Regions from separate parts of the Homo sapiens genome. Here all the other regions are linked to region 1. The links are contacts of gene promoters, found by promoter capture Hi-C in blood cells and fetal thymus (Javierre and others, 2016). All regions are on one chromosome and are shown on one strand. Each heading gives the region's core, a stretch centred on a gene start or on the middle of the fragment in contact. The rest is flanking DNA. Distances are from core to core; before and after follow the strand shown. Region 1 holds the start of OR1G1 (olfactory receptor family 1 subfamily G member 1). Region 2 overlaps SHPK (sedoheptulokinase). Region 3 overlaps TRPV1 (transient receptor potential cation channel subfamily V member 1). Region 4 has its middle 5.8 kb from the start of TRPV3. Region 5 overlaps TRPV3 (transient receptor potential cation channel subfamily V member 3). Region 6 overlaps TRPV3 (transient receptor potential cation channel subfamily V member 3). Region 7 overlaps ASPA (aspartoacylase).

Region 1 (2,827 bases), core at 206-2,705:
GTGACAGAGTGAGACTCCATCTCAAAAATCATAACAATAATAATAAAGGTTCAGGCTAATTCTTATGCCTGATATTACCTCTATAGCAAAGCCCCTTTCCATTCTTCCCACTCTTTCCATTCTCTGGGGTTTATGTATTTACATGATAGATTCATACTGAGCATCTGTGTTGTACCAGCCTCAAGGCTAATGCTAGATTTCAAAGCTGAGCCAATTAGGCACCATCTCTGCCTACTCCCAGTGATGCTCACAGCAGAATGAGGGACACTCATATAAACAGACACTCAGAATCCAAGGTGACACGTGCTGTGATGGGGGAGGCACTGCATTAGGAAGGTCACGAACCTGAGTTTCTGGTGAGAGGATGAGTTGGGAAAGACTTCCCAGAAGAGGTGACATCTAAGGTGAGACCTGAAGCTTAGCTCGTCTGATAAATGGGATGGGAAAAACTATTTCAGCCTGAGAAAGCCTAAAGGTGAGGGAGTATCTGGGCCTTTAAAATAATTGAAACTATGATTAGTGCATAAAGTGTGGAGTGGAGGAGGGAGTTTCATGAGGAACTGGGGATGTCTGTAATAAATGACGGTAAGATCCAGGACATTCAGCCGTGTTCAGTTTAGAGTTTATCCTGGGAGTAATGAGGAGTGTATGAAGGATTTTTCAAGCAGAAAGACAAGAGTCGAATTTGATTTTTAGCAAGCCTATTCTCTGTGTATTTAGAACAGCAGGTGGCAGGTGGGCATACCTGGGGGCATGGAGATCAACTGCCCAAATCCAAGTGAGAAATCACAGTGCCCTGAATGACATGAGCTGCAGCTGGGACTGATGGTGACCAGTAAACAGAGAGACGTCAGTAAATTGTAGCCATATTGAGAAGGTAAAATTGCCAGGCTTTGGTGGTGGTTGGATGTAGGCAGGGAGGGAGAAACGTGGGTCAATAATGACGCTCAGGTTTCTGGCCAGACCCGCTGTGTAGATAACAGTGATAATGATTTCCATGTTAGCCATGCTTTTCCCAATTCCAAAACCCCTTTCCAGGAGCTGTCTTTTTAATTATTGGTACAATGGGCTCATTTGACCTGTAAAATCTTGGGTTGTATAAATGTCATAGTTTCTACATGAACACTACCAGAGCAAAGCCAGCAAGCCCCTCCAGCCCAGCCCCAAAATACACATATTGGCTTAATGCTTATGGAATAAATTTAAAAGCCTCTCATTGCATTACAAACAAATCTGTGGTTTCTCATAGCACCAAGCACAGGAATTTGCAAATATTTAGTCGAACCCTATGAAATGGCCATTTTTGCAGGTCCCAAAGAGTCAAATAGTGGAGATTTCCTATGATCCAACCTCACACTAGAAGATCAACACTGGAATATTGCATAATTTTCAGAGTTCACAATCCAGGGCTTACCAACGTCACCCAATTAACCCAACTTTCTTCCTACAGACAAATGGAGGGGAAAAATCTGACCAGCATCTCAGAATGTTTCCTCCTGGGGTTCTCTGAGCAGCTGGAGGAGCAGAAGCCCCTCTTTGGGTCCTTCCTGTTCATGTACTTGGTCACGGTGGCAGGCAACCTCCTCATCATTCTAGTCATCATTACTGACACTCAACTCCATACCCCCATGTACTTCTTTCTAGCCAACCTCTCCCTTGCAGATGCCTGCTTTGTGTCCACCACAGTCCCTAAGATGCTGGCAAACATACAGATCCAGAGTCAGGCCATCTCCTACTCAGGGTGTCTACTACAGTTGTATTTTTTCATGTTATTTGTGATGCTGGAGGCATTCCTCTTGGCGGTCATGGCCTATGACTGCTACGTGGCCATATGCCACCCACTTCATTACATTCTGATCATGAGCCCTGGGCTCTGCATCTTCCTCGTGTCTGCATCCTGGATCATGAATGCCCTCCACTCCCTTCTACACACACTTCTGATGAACAGCCTGTCCTTCTGCGCAAACCATGAGATCCCACACTTCTTCTGTGACATCAATCCCCTCCTGAGTCTGTCCTGCACAGACCCCTTCACCAATGAGCTGGTGATCTTCATCACTGGGGGTCTCACAGGACTCATTTGTGTGCTTTGCCTGATTATCTCTTACACGAACGTTTTCTCGACCATCCTGAAGATCCCATCAGCTCAGGGGAAGCGGAAAGCCTTTTCCACCTGCAGCTCTCATCTCTCCGTGGTCTCTCTCTTCTTTGGGACTTCTTTTTGTGTTGATTTCAGTTCTCCCTCAACCCACTCGGCCCAGAAGGACACAGTTGCATCAGTGATGTACACAGTGGTAACTCCAATGTTGAATCCCTTTATCTACAGTTTGAGGAACCAAGAAATAAAGTCTTCCCTGAGAAAGTTAATCTGGGTTCGGAAAATTCATTCCCCTTAGTGGTAGTGACTTGACATCCAATATGGGGGTCTCCATGCACCTGCGTTCACCACAGTAAGCAGTGAAGAATGAAAGATGGAGAGAATCTAGAGACCTCTGTTCCAGTACCTACGATCTGAACCTGAAATATTCATGTCTAAGCTACAGGACTGCATCATAACCCATCATCAGGCCAATGTCACAGGTGAAGTTCTTACAATTATGTTCTAAAACCACAGCCATCCAGATGTATAATATAATGTCATGCCTTATTATATTTACTATAGTTAATAATATTGATGATTTAATAATGTTATTAGTTAATGCTTTTTAAACAACATGGGACAGCTCATGACTGAAATAAGGGAATATCTGGCTGGGCTGTTGTATAGGGCCAAGAATAAAATTCAGGGAAGGACGACCTTCCCCCAGCATCACTGTGATCCTGATCA
Region 2 (2,827 bases), core at 221-2,720, 500 kb before region 1:
TAGCTGGGTGTGGTGGTGTGTGCCTATAATCCCAGCTACTTGGGAGGCTAAGGCAGGAAAATCACTTGAACCCGGGAGGCAGAGGTTGCAGTGAGCCGAGATCGCGCCACTGCACTCCAACCTGGGCGACAGAACAAGACTTCGTCTCAAAAAAAAAAAAAAGAAATTATGAAAGATTTAATTTAGACAAACAAAAATAGGGAGAACAGTACTGTGAACAGCATATACCCATCACTCAGCTTCAACAAAATCAACATTTTACTACAGATCAACATTTTAAGCAGAAGATGGACGGCTACTTTGGGGGGCTGTAGTTATGAGGATTTCAATATTGGATTCATCCCTCTCTACATGGAGAGTCGGCAATTTAGAGTGCCCTGAAGTGCACGGTGACCTGCCTGTCAGTGGGACTGGCATTTGGTGATGCACCGTTTAATCACTCCCAGGATGGGGCTGGGCAATCGTAGGAGCTGATGCAGGCTCTTCCTCCTCCCCTTCCTCCCTCCTGTCCGGCTATCATCAGACCCGCCGGGGCCGTGGGAGCTGCTTGGCACCGAGCAGTGGCGGGAGCAGAAGGCGATTAGGGTGTCAAGGCTAACCTCTCAGAGGGAGTCTAGGTTGTAAAAGCTTTTAAAACTCCTTAATTTTGCATTAATGAGAATAAATGTCCTTTTAATACTAAAACCCTTCCCAAAGAGGACAGCAGAGAGCTGATGATTGTGATCCGGTCACATGCCTTCCTTTCTGCCTGTCTCCTGGGCTCTCTAACAACCACACAAACCATCAGCCACATCGTTGGAAAGAGCTGCTTAATATTTTATTGAGCCAGCCCACATGCCTTCTGGGATTGTTTTCTGTTTCTGGGAAGGAGGAAAGCCACAGTGTGGTGATGGTGATACCTGCTTAGTGAAGTCAAGTGAAATCACATTTGGGATCCAGTCTTGTCGATTTTAATGGCAGCCTTAATTCACTTTGGTTTTCCTACCTACAACCTATAAAACGCTTTGCTAGGCCCTGGGGGAGAGATAGAAATGAAGGAATGCAGCCTCTACCTTCCAAAACACAGTCAACACAGATGGGCAGGAGTAACTTGAGCAGAGAGCTAAGTGCTTCAGTGAGGGCACCCGGAGCGAGCTGGAGGGGAGGAGACGGAGTGATTAGTGTCTTCTGAAAGGCCTGTGGTTACGCCTGTTTCCAAACTCCATTTTCAGGCTCAGTAAACGCAGAAGAGCAACCAGGATCATCAAAGAAAGCTAAAAGGCGAGCAGCAGACAGGGAGAAAATATCTGGTAGTGAATAGTGGACAAAGGACAGGTCAGCACGTGTAAAGAACCAGTAACTAAGAGAGAACAAGCAGCTCTGTGGAAAAACGGGTGAAGGATACCAATAGGTTACTCCTGGAAGAGGAAATACCAATGGCTGATAAACATCTGGAAAGATGTTCAGCATTGTTAGTCATTAGAGCTGTGCGGATGAAAACAACAAAGCATCATTTTCCACCCATTGGATGGTAAGAAATCAAAATGTTCCGTAATGTCGAGAGTTGGCAAAGGGAGTGGAAAACTGGTATTTTTTTTATTTTTTATTTTTTTTGAGATGGAGTCTTGCTCTTGTCACCCAGGCTGGAGTACAATGGAGCGATCTGGGCTCACTGCAACCTCTGCCTCCCAGATTCAAGTGATTCTCCTGCCTAAATTTCCCCTCCCAAGTAACTGTTACTACAGGCACCCGCCACCATGCCTGGCTATTTTTTTTTTTTTTTTTTTTGAGATGGAGTCTTGCTGTGTTGCCCAAGCTGGAGTGCAGTGGCGCAATCTCTGCTCACTGCAAGCTCTGCCTCCCAGGTTCACGCCATTCTCCTGCCTCAGCCTCCAGAGTAGCTGGGACTACAGGTACCCGCCATCACGCCCGGCTAATTTTTTTTTCGGTATTTTTAGCAGAGAAGGGGTTTCACCATGTTGGCCAGGCTGGCCTTGAACTCCTGACCTCAAGTGATCCACCCGCCTCATACTCCCAAAGTGCTGGGATTACAGGTGTGAGCCACTGCGCCCGATGAGCTAAGAGGTATTGAGGATACAAACAGAAGCACTAGCATCTAAATCATAAGAGACCAGAAAGGGAAAAATAAAAATGGAGAGGAGGAAATCTTTGAAGAAATAATGGAGAAAAATTTCCTATAATTGACAACATAAGATAGAACACCCCAGCCTGAAAGGGCCCATAGAATGTCAAAGAGGAGATAAAGACAACCCCCAGCTAGATATATTCTAGTGAACTTTTAAGGATTTCAAAGACAGAATTCCAAAAGCTTACAGAGCAAAAGATCAGATCCCATATGAAAGAATAAGGATCAGATTGACATTAGATTTTTTTCAACAGCAGCATTCTGTGTGAAAAGACAATGGAGTAGCATTTTTTTGTTTGTTTTGTTTTTCTGAGATGGAGCCTCACTCTGTTGCCCAGGCTGGAGTGCAGTGGTGCGATCTCAGCTCACTGCAACCTCCGCCTACTGGGTTCAAGCGATTCTCCTGCCTCAGCCTCCGGAGTAGCTGGGATTACAGGCACCCGCTACCACACCTGGCTAATTTTTGTATTTTTTGTAGAGATGGGGTTTCGCCATGTTGTCCAGGCTGGTCTCGAACTCCTCACCTCAGGTGATCCGCCCACCTTGGCCTCCCGAAGTGCTGGGATTATAGGCGTGAGCCACCGTGCCTGACCAGGAGTAGTATTTTGATGACCTATTGCGGCACAACAAACTACCTCCAACCTAGTGACTGAAAGCAACAAGCATTTATCATCTGTCATGATTTTTTGGGTCAGGGGTTGG
Region 3 (2,827 bases), core at 120-2,619, 460 kb before region 1:
GCTTAAACCTTGGAGGCAGAGGTTGTGATGAGCTGAGATGGCACCACTGCACTCCAGGCTGGTCAACAAGAGTGAAACTCTGTCTCAAAAAAAAAAAAAGAAAAATCACGCAGGAATTTGGGCTCGGGACAGGGCTCACCCCTGGCCTGGGGGTCCCCAGGGATGTGGGCTGGTGTCTAAGCCCAGAGCCCACCATCATCCTGCTTGCCTGCCCTCTTTCATTCACTCACTTGCTCATTATTCATTCCCTGGATTTAGACTTTTGAGCAGCTCTGTGCCAGGCCCTGGGCCATCCATCAAATCAGCCTAAGACCAGCCTTTTTCCTCTGCCAAGAGCCAAGACTTCATCAAACTTCTGGACTTAGTCCTTCGTGTCTGATACCCAGGACACTTAATTTGCTGCTTTTGTTTCCAGGGCACTTTACAAGTTTACTTACTTACTTAATTTTTGTTTTTTTGAGATGGAGTCTCGCTCTATCACCCAGGCTGGAGTGCAGTGGCGCAATCTCTGCTCACTGCAACCTCCACCTCCCGGGTTCAAGTGACTCTTCTGCCTCGGCCTCCCGAATAGCTGGGACTACAGGCACCCACCAACATGCCAAGCTTATTTTTATATTTTTAGTAGAGATGGGATTTCACCGTATTGGCCAGGCTAGTCTTGAACTCCTGACCTCAAGTGATCGCCTGCCTCGGCCTCCCAAAGTGCTTGGATTACAGGTGTGAGCCACCGTGCCCGGCTGCACATTTACTTTAAAAACTCAACTTCATAATTGCATGAAACCCGATTTCTGTCCACCTATTAAGGCCACATAATGACTTCCTTTTTTTTTTATTTTATTTTTTTTTTTTTTGAGACAGAGTCTCTCTCTGTTTTCCAGGCTGGAGTGCAGTGGTGTGATCTCAGCTCACTGCAAGCTCTGCCTCCTGGGTTCACGCCATTCTCCTGCCTCAGCCTCCCTCTTTTTTTTTGTTTTTTGTTTTTTGTTTTTTGAGACAGAGTCTCGCTCTGTTGCCCAGGCTGGAGTGCAGTGGCGCCACCTTGGCTCACCGCAACCTCTGGCTCCGGGGTTCAAGTGATTCTTCTGTCTCCCAAGTAGCTGGGATTACAGCCATGAGCTACCACGCCTGGCTAATTTTGTATTTTTAGTAGAGATGGGGTTTCTCCATGTTGGTCAGGCTGGTCTCGAACTCTCGACCTCAGGTGATCCGCCCGCCTCGGCCTCCCAAAGTGCTGGGATTACAGGCGTGAGCCACTGCACCCGGCCAGTGACTTCTTTTTAAGAGAAAAATGTGCTGGTAAGGCAAGCTGATGAACTAGTGCTTAGGAAATGTGGATGGTGACCCACTCCAGGAAATGGCCACTGAAATACAAGGGTGACACCCACAAGTGTGTGTGGCACAGTCTCTCCCTCCATGGTCAGTGGGAGTCCCTGACACTCGTGGGAGACTGGCCATGGGCTGGGGTGGCAGCGGGATGTGTATGGCGTGGGGTCCATGAGAGTGCTTCCACCTCTCCATCACCCTGCTGTCCATCACTCTGCTCCCAGCCAGGAGGAGCTCTGGGCCTGCCGGGACATTGCTTGGGAGGCGGCACAGCATTGTAAGATGCTCCGCTTGGCACCTGCAGGCTGCCACTTTGGGGAATCAGGCCCACAGAGGGGCCTCCTTGCGGGCGCTCCCCTAATAACACACTGTCTTTGTGTGTCCTTCCCCTGATGGAGGCTGTGCCTCCTGGGCAGGGACTATGGCTTCATGGACCTGGTCCATGTTTGTTGAATGAACGAATGAGTAAATGGAGTTACCAACTTCTCTGCATCTCACAGCCTCCCTTTAAGATGGAAAAAACTGGAGACTATTTCCGAGTTACTGGAGAGATCCTGTCTGTGTTAGGAGGAGTCTACTTCTTTTTCCGAGGGGTAAGCGTTCCTTCCCACATTGTGAGTTTCCATTATCACCAAAACAAAAAGCCAAGAAGATCCCTCAGCGCTCACTCACTTTTTAATTCATCAGACACATCATAGCCCTACTTGGGGAGCTGAGAGACGCAGAGGTGAAGATGAGAGCCCTTCAGTCAGTCACCGCGGGGCGGGAGGGTGCTCAGGGCGTCTCCACAGGCCCAAGGCAGGCAAGCTTGAAAGTAGACACTCCAGCCACTCCACGGAACGGAGTATTTGATTACAGGGGCAGAGTGGAGGCCTCTTAAGTGATAGGATCATGACTGGTAGTTTTTTAATTAAACCAATCTGTTAAAGCTCTGAGCAGTGAAGGAAATCTCCTTGCATACTGGAATCTTTTTTTTTTTTTTTTGAGGTGGAGTTTCGCTTTGTCATCTAGGCTGGAGGCTAGTGGCACGATCTCGGCTCACTGCAACCTCCGCCTCTTGGGTTCAAAAAATTCTCCTGAGTAGCTGGGATTACAGGCGCCTGCCACCACAGCCGGCTAATTTTTTTGTATTTTTAGTAGAGGTGGGGTTTCACCATGTTGGCCAGGCTGGTCTCGAACTCCTGACCTCAGGTGATCCACCTGCCTCAGCCTCCCAAAGTGCTGGGATTACAGGCGTGAGCCACCACACCAGCAAGGAATTGTTTTATTTTTAACCTGAAACTCAAACATGTGCAATCCTTGGCCATTTTTTTTTTTTTTAATGCAGGAGTAATCTTTTCTTTGAATGTGGGACTCACTGTTTCAGATTTTACATCACCTTTCTTGCAAAAACCATATTTATATAATCTAAGATTTCTAGTTTCAGCTTCTTTAAAGAAGAGTGAGAACTTAGCTGCGTACAAAAAAGTCTGAATGTAGAATTTGAGATGATCATTGGTTTTTG
Region 4 (2,827 bases), core at 221-2,720, 440 kb before region 1:
TCCCGATGGTCTCCCTCTCCCTCTCTTTCCACGGTCTCCCTCTCATGCCGAGCCGAAGCTGGACTGTACTGCTGCCATCTCGGCTCACTGCAACCTCCCTGCCTGATTCTCCTGCCTCAGCCTGCCCAGTGCCTGCGATTGCAGGCGCGCGCCGCCACGCCTGACTGGTTTTCGTATTTTTTTGGTGGAGACGGGTTTCGCTGTGTTGGCCGGGCTGGTCTCCAGCTCCTAACCGCGAGTGATCCGCCAGCCTCGGCCTCCCGAGGTGCCGGGATTGCAGACGGTGTCTGGTTCACTCAGTGCTCAATGGTGCCCAGGCTGGAGTGCAGTGGCGTGATCTCGGCTCACTACAACCTCCACCTCCCAGCCGCCTGCCTTGGCCTCCCAAAGTGCAAAGCTTGCAGCCTCTGCCTGGCCGCCCATCGTCTGGGATGTGAGGAGCCCCTCTGCCTGGCTGCCCCGTCTGGAAAGTGAGGACTGTCTCCGCCCGGCCGCCCATCGTCTGAGATGTGGGGAGCGCCTCTGCCCCGCCGCCCCATCTGGGATGTGAGGAGCGCCTCTGCCCGGCCACGACCCCGTCTGGGAGGTGAGGAGCGTCTCTGCCCAGCCGCCCCGTCTGAGAAGTGAGGAGCCCCTCCACCCGGCAGCTGCCCCTACTGGGAAGTGAGGAGCGTCTCCGCCCGGCAGCCACCCCGTCCAGGAAGGAGGTGGGGGTCACCCACCGCCAGGCCAGCCGCCCCGTCCGGGAGGTGAGGGGCGCCTCTGCCTGGCCGCCCCTACTGGGAAGTGAGGAGCCCCTCTGCCCGGCCACCACCCCGTCTGGGAGGTGTGCCCAACAGCTCATTGAGAACGGGCCATGATGACAATGGCGGTTTTGTGGAATAGAAAAGGGGGAAAGGTGGGGAAAAGATTGAGAAATCGGATGGTTGCCGTGTCTGCGTAGAAAGAAGTAGACATGGGAGACTTCATTTTGTTCTGTACTAAGAAAAATTCTTCTGCCTTGGGATCCTGTTGATCTGTGACCTTACCCCCAACCCTGTGCTCTCTGAAACATGTGCTGTGTCCACTCAGGGTTAAATGGATTAAGGGCGGTGCAAGATGTGCTTTGTTAAACAGATGCTTGAAGGCAGCATGCTCGTTAAGAGTCATCACCACTCCCTAATCTCAAGTACCCAGAGACACAAACACTGCGGAAGGCCGCAGGGTCCTCTGCCTAGGAAAACCAGAGACCTTTGTTCACTTGTTTATCTGCTGACCTTCCCTCCACTATCGTCCTATGACCCTGCCAAATCCCCCTCTGTGAGAAACACCCAAGAATGATCAATAAAAAAATAAATTAAAAAAAAAAAGATAAAAAATAAACACATTGTGAAAAAAAAAAAAGAAACAGATACTCTGAAAGAGAGATCTGTTCCAGACTGGGCAGGTTGTGTTAGTATCTGCGGAGTGTAGAATGAGTTGTTCAGTTGTGGAATTATTGGATGTTGGTTCATGAAAGGATGAACTTTGGCTGAGGCTGAGGCTTGGGCCCTACCAGGAGAGGTGTTTTGGGAGAAAATACTGGGATCCCTCCTCCCTGTTCTCTAGCATCATGTCTGCCTCCACATAGGAGGCGCCACGGAGGAGCCCCAGTTGCCTGCATGTGACTATGGCAAGTGAGCCTGGAGCCTGGAGGAGGGAGGCCGACAGCCGGGATGTGGGGAGTGTTTATGAAGGTGCTCCATGTGCATCTCCCTTTAAGTCTCCTAACAGCTCGTGAAGAAGCTATTATTAGTTCCCTTTTATAGATGAGAAAATCAAGGTTCCAACAGTGAGTAAGGTTGCACAGCCAGTAAACACGTTGCCTAGGTTTGACCCCAGGCAGTCTGACTCCAAAGCCTGGCTCTTAACTGCTGTGTCAGGCTGCCTGGCAGAGAATGTGCTGGGGCATGCCAGCCTATCCTGGGCCAGAGGGAGGTGGGAGGGCTTCTCGCTTCCTGCTGTGGGCCTGGGGCTCCATGCTTTACCTGTAGGCCTTTCTTAGAAAATGTGTGGGTGTCAGACAGCTGCAAACTTCTGCAAATTGGATCAGCTTTTTGTTTTGTTTTGTTTTTTGAGACAGAGTCTTGCTCTGTCACCCAGGCTGGAGTGCAGTGGCATGATCTCAGCTCACTGCAACCTCTGCCTTCTGGGTTCAAGGGATTCCCCTGCCTCAGCCTCTTTAGTAGCTGGATGACAGGTGCCTGCCACCACGCCTGGCTAATTTTTGTAGTTTTAGTAGAAATGGGGTTTCACCATGTTGGCGGGGCTGGTCTTGAACTCCTGACCTCAAGTGATCCAGCTGCCTTGGTTTCCCAAAGTACTGGGATTACAGGTGTGAGCCACCGTGCCCAGCCTGGATCAGCTTTCAAATTTACTCAGAGCTGGAAGGGATCCTGTGGTTGTACTTTTGCAAAACTAATGATAGAAATTTTTTGTTATTAGATTGGAAACCTGAGATTGTTTAAGGAAGGATATACCTGCAATTCATATGTCTTTCTTTTTTAAAAAATTAATAAGCTTTATTTTAATTTTATTTTTTTGAGACAGGGTCTTGCTCTCTTGCCCAGGTGGGAGCACAGTGGTGTGGTCATGGCTCAATGCAGCCTCAAACTCTTGAGCTCGAGCGATCCTCCTGCCTTAGCCTCCTGAGTAGCTGGGTCTACAAGCGTGAGCCACCACGCCTGGCAATTTTTTTTTCCCCGTGCAGAGATGTGGTCTTGCTATGTTGCTCAGGCTGGTCTTGAACTCCTGGCCTCAAGCAGTCCTCCCGCCTTGGCCCCACAAAGTACTGGCATTGCGGTGCCAG
Region 5 (2,827 bases), core at 215-2,714, 410 kb before region 1:
CATCCGCTGGTGCCTTCCTTCCTCTTAGCATTTCCTCCACCCGGAGCAGAGGGGCTCCAGGACCAGCAGAGTAGCATTCTTCCACACTCTGGGCAGGACCCAAGGTGACCACTCTGATTGTCCACTCTAAAGTTTCCCTTCCCCAGTCACTTTCTGTCACCCTATCTTCATTTATTTTCATAGCATTTTTTTGTATCTAAAATAACCTTATTTAGAGCAATGACTTTGTTTATTTATTTATTTATTTATTTATTTATTTATTTTTTGAGATGGAGTTCCGCTGTGTCACCAGGCTGGAGTGCAGTGGCACAACCTCTGCCTCCCGGGTTCAGGTGATTCTCCTGCCTCAGCATCCCAAGTAGCTGGGACTACAGGCAACTGCCTCACCTCTCTGAGCCTCAGTTTCCCCACTGGGCAAGGGCGAATATTTCCTCCCTATGCTGCTAAGAGGAACCAATCACAACTTTATTCATATCATTTTAAAGCATTTTATCAGAGGCCTTCAGAGTTTTACTTTTTTAAGCAATTCTTCAATTAAGACATTTTTATTATAAAAATTTTAAACATGAAGTTAAGATATTAGAATAATAAACCTCTACACATCCATCATCAGATTCAATATAACAGTTTCTTTTTATTATTTTACTTTATTTTATTTTATTATTGTTTTTGAGACAGGTTCTCACTCTGTTGGGCAGGCTGGAGTGCAGTGGCGCGACCACGACTCGCTGCAGCCTTGACCTCCCTGGGCTCAGGTAATTTTCCCACCTCAGCCTCCCGAGTAGCTGGGACTATAGATGCGTGCCACCCCGCCCAGCTAATTTTTCTATTTGTTGCAGGGATAGGGTTTCACCATGTTGCCCAGGCTGGTCTGTAACTCCGGGGCTCAAGCAATCCTCCCGCCTCTGCCTCTCAATGATGGGATTATAGGCGTGAGCCACCGCACCCAGCCTAACAACATCCACGTCACATGAATAGAGTTTCATTGTAAAGCAGCCCAGCATTTTACATACTTTTTTTTTTTTTAAGTCCTTTACCCATATACTTTGTGGAGTTTTCTAGGCCTTTGACATTTGTGTGTGTATATGTGCACACAGAAAAAGTTTTATTTATTTAACATAAAATATTATCATACTGTCTGTATTCTACAAGTTGGTTTTTTTGATTAACTATTAACCATATGTCTTGGAGCACTTCTTATGCCAAAATATGAAAGTCTAGCTTCTTTTCACCAGATTCGTCTGCAATTGCGGCTGCACCTTGGCTAATTTCACCACTCCCCCACTGACAGACAGTCAGGTGTTTCCAGCTGTGTTGTGACAATGTCACAGTGCACGATCTTGTCTATGACCCTGTGCACAGGTGCACATATGTTTCAGAAAATATTTTGAATTGGAATATCTGGGTTCAACCGCATGCATATTTAAAGTTATAATAGTGGCCAGGCGCAGTGGCTCATGCCTGTAATCCCAGCACTTTGGGAGGCCAAGGCAGGTGGATCACTTGAGGTCAGGAGTTCCAGACCAGCCTAGCCAACATGGTGAAAACCCATCTCTACTAAAAATACAAAAACTAGTAGGGCGTGGTGGGGCACGCTTGTAATCCCAGCTACTTGGGAGGCTGGGGCAGGAGGATCACTTGAACCTGGGAGGCGGAGGTTGCAGTGAGCCGAGATCGCGCCACTGCACTCCAGCCTGGGCAACAGAGGGAGACTCCATCTCAAAAAAAAAAATTTTTTTTTAAATAAATAAAATAAAGTTATAATAGTTATTGCCAAATTTGTCTCTAAAAGATACTCATTTACTCTCTCCCCACAACGGTGTACAGAAATACTCATTCTCCTACTTATCACTAACACTGCAAATTATCCTTTTTTTTTTTTTTTTGTTCTTTTCCAGTCTGGTGGGTGAAAAGGGTTAACTCTTTAGGTTCTAATTTTCATTTTCCTGACCACCAGTGATTCCAAACATCTTTCACTTTGTTTATTCACTGTGTGTATTTTCTCCTCTGTGAGGTGCTTGTTTATAATCTTTTCTCAGTTTTCTTTTAGACTGTTTGTCTTTCTATTGATTCATAGGCGCTTGTAATATATTATAGACTTTTAAAAACACAATGCCTTTCTATTTTTTTTTTGAGACGGGGTCTTGCTCTATTGCCCAGGCTGGAGTGCAGTGGCATGCTCACTGCAAGCTCCACCTCCCGGGTTCACACCATTCTCCTGCCTCAGCCTCCCGAGTAGCTGGGACTACAGGCACTCACCATCACGCCCGCCTAATTTTTTGTATTTTTAGTAGAGACAGAGTTTCACCAGGTTAGCCAGGATGGTCTCGATCTCCTGACCTCGTGATCTGCCCGCCTCAGCCTCCCAAAGTGCTGGGATTACAGGTGTGAGCCACCGTGCCTGGCATGCCTTTTTTTTTTTTTTTTTTTTAAAAAGACAGAGTCTTGCTCTCTAGCCCAGGCTGGAGTACAGTGGCGCGATCTCTGCCTCCTGAGTTCAAGTGATTCTCCTGCTTCAACCTCCTGAGTAGCTGGGACTACAGGTGCCCGCCACCACACTTGGCTAATTTTTTTGTATTTTCAGTAGAGATGGGGTTTCTCCATGTGGGCCAGGCTGGTCTCGAACTCCTGACCTCAAGTGATCCACCCGCCTCGGCTTCCCAAAGTGCTGGGATTACAGGTGTGAGCTACCGCGCCCGGCCCTAAAACACATTGCCTTTTTATATATCTCAAATATTTTCCCCAGCCTATCACTTGTCTTTAACTTTCATTAGGATGCATTCGGAAATACAGAAATCTCCGAGGTAGGGGGATTGCTTGAGCCCAG
Region 6 (2,827 bases), core at 100-2,599, 390 kb before region 1:
TGTTCACTATAGTCATCATGCTGTCCATTAGATCCCCAGAACTTATTCATCTTATTCATTGATTTAGTTCTGAATAATGGCTGTGTTTAACAACCAGCTCACAAGCTTCATGAGAATTTAACGATCAGCTCTTGCGAGCTCTTCTGAGCTGGCTCCAGCATGCCACTGCCCCCAGCAAGTGTGAGGATTCCAGTGTGAGACCCTATGGTGAAAGGTACAGGGTGAATCACAGGGAGAAGAGAACCTGGGGCTGGAGCAGAAACAGAAGGCTTCCTGGAGGAGGCAGGATCCAGTGTTGAGCCTTGGAGCATCAGGAGGATTTGGCTGGGGGAAGGGAGAGTGGCCCAAGTGAAGAGACAGTTAGGGTGGGGGGTGGGAGAGGGTGGGAAGCAGGAAGATCAGGGTGCCGTGAATATGTGCTTGCACCTTACACTTGAATTATGTTTATTTCCTTATAGGTCATTTTGCATGATGTTCTGAAGTTCTTGTTTGTATATATCGTGTTTTTGCTTGGATTTGGAGTAGGTAATTGATTTATAAATAATAGTAACTCCCACATTTATAAACACTTTATACAGATGTCAAAATGGCAAAGTGCATGGCGGCCTTGGCAACAATTAGACCAACTACCAGTGGGGCACTTGCCATGCTTGGCATTTTCCAAGCATTACCTTTATATATATACATATATATTTTATTATACTTTAAGTTCTAGGGTACATGTGCACAACATGCAGGTTTGTTACATATGTATACATGTGCCATGTTGGTATGCTGCACCCATTAACTCGTCATTTACATTAGGTATATCTCCTAATCAAGCATTACCTTTTTACTTCTCTCAACAACTTGATCAAGTGGGAATCATCACCCCGATCATAAGGTAACTGAGGCTTAGAGACTCCAGGATTCAAACCAGGCCAGCCACTCATAATCCAACTTCACCATGTGGTATATACCTCTGGCTTTCCCATTCATTGCTTACGTGGCCCTCACGACCTAAGATAGGTTCTGCAAGTGTTTTCAGCCCCATTTTAACAGATGCGGAAACTAAAGTCCACAGAAACTCAACTGATGGTCTTTGCAAAGTAGGAGCAAACTAATACCCTGAGGTGATTTCCTTTGGATTTCACATCACGTTACTCTCACAGTTTGCTTTAGATACAACTGTGAGAGCCTCTCTGGTCTGCTGGGACCAGGAAGGAGCCCCCTCTTAAAATCTCTCCATTTACAACAGAGGGAACAGCACGATCTGGTTGTATTTCTAACCTCTGCATAGAGAGATATCATTTTCCCCCACGTACCAGTTGCTTTTTTTTCTTTTCTTCAGTGACCATTGACATTTGAAATTAAGTAGCTGTTTCCATCTGTCTGGTACCTTTTCTGGGTCACAATTTGCTTATTTATTTGCTCCTTCACCTGCTTGTTTATTCATCCATCTATTTACTCTCTCATTTAATTTGCTCATCCACCTGTCTATCCGTCCATCCATCCATCCATCCATCCATCCATCCATCCATCCAATCATTCATCCATCGATCCATCCATTGATCTATCCATCTATCCATCCATCCATCCATCCATCCATCCATCTAATCATCCATCCAATCATCCATCCATCCATCCATCCATCCATCCATCCATCCAGTCATCCATCCATTCATCCATTTAATCATCCATCCATCGATCAATCGGTCCATCCATCCAGCTATCCATCCATCCATCCATCCATCTAATCATTCATCCATCAATCCATCCATCCATCCATCCATCCATCCATCCATCCATCCATCTATCCATCCATCCAATCATCCATCCATCCATCGATCAATCAGTCCATCCATCCATCTAATCATCCATCTAATCATCCATCCATCCATCCATCCATCCATCCAGTCATCCATCCATTCATCCATTTAATCATCCATCCATCCATCGATCAATTGGTCCATCCATCCATCTATCCATCCATCCATCCATCCATCTAATCACCCATCCATCCATCCATCCATCCAATCATCTATCCATCCATCCATCTAATCATCTATCCATCCATCCATCCATCCATCCATCCAATCATCCATCCATCCATCCATCCATCCCTCCATCTAATCATCCATCCCTCCATCCATCCCTCCATATCCATCCATCCATCCATCCATCCATCCATCCAACCATTCAGCAGTGAACCTCTACTGTGGTGTGTTGGAAAGAAGGGAAGTGTGAGCCTGGTCTTGCTCACAGGGAACTCAAAACAGAGCATTAGGAGGAGACTCAGGATCTTACAGCCTTGAGGGAGGTGACCCAGGCTAGAGGAAGTCAGGAGCTCAAAGACTAGCTGGGGAGCCAGGGACACACACATGGATTATAATTAGTGGCTCTGCAAGGCTGCAAGTGATCAAGGGCAGACTGCGGGGTAAAGGAAGGAGAGAAGACTCTGGGCTTTGTTAGGTGGAAGGGCTTTCTGCAGGAGGCCAGGCCAGAGAAGCCAGCCTGATGAGGCTTTGAGAGGACCTGAAACTGGAGATGGGATTTAATGGCCAGAGAGAAGGAGGCAGCAGGCTTGTCATGTAGGCAAATACACGCAAGCTTGTAGAGTAATTACCAGGCAGAGAGCTGAGGAGAGCACCCTGTTATGTTCCCTTAGCCTTGGCCTCGCTGATCGAGAAGTGTCCCAAAGACAACAAGGACTGCAGCTCCTACGGCAGCTTCAGCGACGCAGTGCTGGAACTCTTCAAGCTCACCATAGGCCTGGGTGACCTGAACATCCAGCAGAACTCCAAGTATCCCATTCTCTTTCTGTTCCTGCTCATCACCTATGTCATCC
Region 7 (2,827 bases), core at 201-2,700, 370 kb before region 1:
TCAACAGTGTTCACAGCATCTGCAACAAGAGTTGATTGCAGCCAAGAAACCACTTTTTTGCTCATTTATAAGAAGCGACTCCTCATCCATTCAAGTGTGATCATGAGATTGCAGCAGTTCAGTTACATCTTCAGGCTCCACTTCTCATTCTCTTGCTGTACATCTGCATGACTTCCTTTACTCAAGTCTCGAATTCCTCAGAGTCATCCAAGAGGGTTGGAATTCACTTTTTCCAAACTCCTGTTAATGTTGATATTTTGATCTCCTCCCACGGATCCTGAATGTTCTTAATGGCATCTGGAATGCTGAATCCTTTCCAGAGGTTTTCTGTTTACTTTGCCCAGCTCCATCAGAGGAATCACTATCTATGGCAGCTATAGCCTTATGAAATGATTTTTTTCTTCCTTTCTTTTTTTTCTTTTTTCTCCCCTCCCCCAGCCTGAAATGTATTTCTTAAATAGTTAGATTTGAAAGTCACAATGACGCCTTGATCCATGGGCTTCGGCTGGATGTCGTGGTAGCAGGCGCGAAAACAATGCTAATCTCTTCGCACATCTCCAGCAGAGCTCTTGGGTAACATGGTGTATTGTCAATCAGCAGTAGTATTTTGAAAGGAATTTTTTTTTTTCCCAAGCAGTAGGTCTCAACAGTGGGCTTAAAATATACAGTAAACCATGCCGCAAACAGATGTGCTGCCAGCGAGGCTTTGTTGTTCCATTTATAGAGCTCAGACACAGCAGGTTTAGCATCAGTCTTCAGAGTCCTACGATTTTTGGGCCGGGCGTGGTGGCTCATGCCTGTAATCCCAGCACTTTGGGAGGCCGAGGCAGGCGGATCATGAGGTCAGGAGATCGAGACCATCCTGGCTAGCAGAGTGAAACCCCATCTCTACTAAAAAAATGCAAAAAATTAGCCGGGCGTGGTGGCAGGCACCTGTAATCTCAGCTACTGGGGAGGCTGAGGCAGGAGAATGGCATGAACCTGGGAGGCGGAGCTTGCAGTGAGCCGAGATTGCGCCACTGCACTCCAGCCTGGACGACAGAGCAAGACTCCGTCTCAAAAAAAAAACAAAAAACAAGAGTTTTAGGATTTTTGAAACAGTTAATGAGCTTTGGCTTTAACCCAAAGTCACCAGCTGTGTTAGCTCTTAAGAGAGTCAGGCTGTCCTTTGAAGCTTTGAAGCTAGGCATTCATTTCTCCCCTCTAGCTAGGAAAGTCCTAGATAGCATCTTCTTCCAATAGAAGGCTGTTTCAACTACACTGAAGATCCGTTGTTTAGTGTAGCCATCTTTGTCAATGATTTTAGCTACATCTTCTGGATAACTTGCTACAGCTTCCACATCAGCAACTTGCTGGTTCGCTTTCCACTTGTAGGTTTTAGAGCTGTCTTCTTTCCTTAAACCTTGTGAACCAACCTCTCCCAGCTTCCTGCAGCTTCCTCACCTCTCTCAGCCTTCACAGAATTGAAGAGAGTTAGGGCCTTGCTGTGGGTCATGCTTTGGCTTAATGTGTGGCTGGTTTGATCTTCTATCCAGACCACTAAAACTGTCTCCATATCAGCAATAAGGTTGTTTTGCTTTCTTATCATTTGTGTGTGTGCACTGGAGTAGAATTTTTAATTTTCTTCAAGATCCTTTTCTTTGAATTCACAACTTGGCTAACCAGTGCAAGAGGCCTAGCTTTCAGCCTGTCTCAGCTTTTGACATGCCTTCCTTACTAAGCTTAATTTCTAGAAGTATGACCCTTTCTTTCACTTGAACACACAGAGTCTGCTGTAGACTTATTAATTATTGTGTCTCAAGGAACAGGGAGGCCAGAGGACAGGGAGAGAGACAAGGAAATGGCCGGTCAGTAGAGCAGTTAGAACTCACACAACATTCACTAAGTTCGCAGTCTCACATGGGCACGATTCATGGTGCCCCAAAACACTTAACAACAGTAACATCAAAGGCCACTGATCACAGATCACCATAGCAGATATAATAAATAAATCATAAAAAAGCTTGAAATATTATCAAAGGGTGACACAGAGACAAGGAGTGAGCACATGCTGTTGGAAACATGGCACTGTTAGACTTTCTAGACACAGGGTTGCCAAAAACCTTCAATTTGGAAAAAAAGTACAAGTACAGTATCCGTGAAGTGTAGTAAGGCAAAGCACAATAAAACAAATAACTTTATATATATCTATTTCAATTTTATATTCTGAATACAAAGGCTGTTTATTAAGAATGTTGAGCTACCCAAGTATCATGTATAATAAACTATATAGAAATAGGAAACACTTCTTTGAATAAGCTACATACATAAAATATGATATCTTTAAAGATATATTAATTAATTTAAGAAATGTGCTTAGATGCCTACCGAATAAGGCACTGTGCTAGGAGCTATGTATGCAGTTGAATAAGGCACAACCCTACTCTTAAGGAGCTTACAGACTAGCAGAATTTGTAAGACACCGTGTAAGATGTAAGCTGGAAGTGATTTCTAATGTAAACAGCAGCGAATACTTTTTGCATTGAGCGTTAGTTTAGTTGTCTTTGCAAAAGCTTCTTTCTTTTCGTAATATGCGGCCTCATTCACAAACACGGGGTACACGGTACAGTCTCCGCCCAGTGGGATCGTCTTCCCATCAAGAGTTAAAAACATGGGATCCCCAGGATGCAGTGGTTTCCAGTCTTGATCCTCTCAGGAAACAATCAAAATAAATATATTATATTTGGTTTTTCTCCTCTAAAAATTTATGTCAGACTCTAGACAACTAACAAATTACAGTATTCTGTTGTTTTAAAAGAGATACTTGAGCGAGGCATTGAGATGCAGG

Evidence for each region. Contacts are between HindIII fragments. The CHiCAGO score rates a contact against its expected background, and 5 or more counts as called.
Region 2: a contact is called between a fragment that was not itself captured here and the fragment with the promoter of OR1G1 in region 1, in 3 of 17 cell types (M0 macrophages, M1 macrophages and endothelial precursors). The highest score is 7.6, in M0 macrophages.
Region 3: a contact is called between a fragment that was not itself captured here and the fragment with the promoter of OR1G1 in region 1, in 5 of 17 cell types (M0 macrophages, endothelial precursors, M1 macrophages and 2 more). The highest score is 7.2, in M0 macrophages.
Region 4: a fragment that was not itself captured here is called in contact with the fragment with the promoter of OR1G1 in region 1 in 2 of 17 cell types (M1 macrophages and M2 macrophages); the score reaches 6.6 in M1 macrophages.
Region 5: a contact is called between a fragment that was not itself captured here and the fragment with the promoter of OR1G1 in region 1, in 9 of 17 cell types (M2 macrophages, M1 macrophages, M0 macrophages and 6 more). The highest score is 16.5, in M2 macrophages.
Region 6: a contact is called between a fragment that was not itself captured here and the fragment with the promoter of OR1G1 in region 1, in 8 of 17 cell types (M1 macrophages, M0 macrophages, endothelial precursors and 5 more). The highest score is 16.7, in M1 macrophages.
Region 7: a fragment that was not itself captured here is called in contact with the fragment with the promoter of OR1G1 in region 1 in 5 of 17 cell types (M1 macrophages, endothelial precursors, M0 macrophages and 2 more); the score reaches 12.1 in M1 macrophages.

Annotation. Positions count from the first base shown.
Region 1 is chr17:3,126,179-3,129,005 of GRCh38, reverse strand. It overlaps OR1G1 (olfactory receptor family 1 subfamily G member 1), which reads left to right and starts at 1,455. Exons shown (of 1, transcript NM_003555.1): 1 at 1,455-2,396. The coding sequence starts at 1,455. The coding sequence ends at 2,396. The HindIII fragment of the contact is 3,090 bases long and covers 420-2,827 here.
Region 2 is chr17:3,625,662-3,628,488 of GRCh38, reverse strand. The region is part of intron 2 of SHPK (sedoheptulokinase); the gene reads left to right. Among named protein-coding and RNA genes, the nearest start is that of SHPK, 9.2 kb to the left of the region's middle. The HindIII fragment of the contact is 1,681 bases long and covers 630-2,310 here.
Region 3 is chr17:3,582,427-3,585,253 of GRCh38, reverse strand. TRPV1 (transient receptor potential cation channel subfamily V member 1) reads left to right here. Exons shown (of 17, transcript NM_080704.4): 10 at 1,824-1,916. Among named protein-coding and RNA genes, the nearest start is that of TRPV1, 26 kb to the left of the region's middle. The HindIII fragment of the contact is 1,527 bases long and covers 606-2,132 here.
Region 4 is chr17:3,562,199-3,565,025 of GRCh38, reverse strand. No RefSeq gene overlaps it. Among named protein-coding and RNA genes, the nearest start is that of TRPV3, 5.8 kb to the right of the region's middle. RefSeq lists enhancers at 588-1,386, 1,682-1,731, 1,952-2,151. The HindIII fragment of the contact is 2,141 bases long and covers 400-2,540 here.
Region 5 is chr17:3,537,497-3,540,323 of GRCh38, reverse strand. All of the region lies in intron 6 of TRPV3 (transient receptor potential cation channel subfamily V member 3), which reads left to right. Among named protein-coding and RNA genes, the nearest start is that of TRPV3, 19 kb to the left of the region's middle. The HindIII fragment of the contact is 3,774 bases long and covers 1-2,827 here.
Region 6 is chr17:3,518,671-3,521,497 of GRCh38, reverse strand. TRPV3 (transient receptor potential cation channel subfamily V member 3) reads left to right here. Exons shown (of 18, transcript NM_145068.4): 14 at 459-525; 15 at 2,648-2,827. Among named protein-coding and RNA genes, the nearest start is that of TRPV3, 38 kb to the left of the region's middle. The HindIII fragment of the contact is 2,484 bases long and covers 108-2,591 here.
Region 7 is chr17:3,498,752-3,501,578 of GRCh38, reverse strand. It overlaps ASPA (aspartoacylase), which reads right to left. Exons shown (of 6, transcript NM_000049.4): 6 at 1-2,688. The coding sequence ends at 2,491. It also overlaps a transcript of SPATA22 not described here. Among named protein-coding and RNA genes, the nearest start is that of ASPA, 24 kb to the right of the region's middle. The HindIII fragment of the contact is 547 bases long and covers 1,177-1,723 here.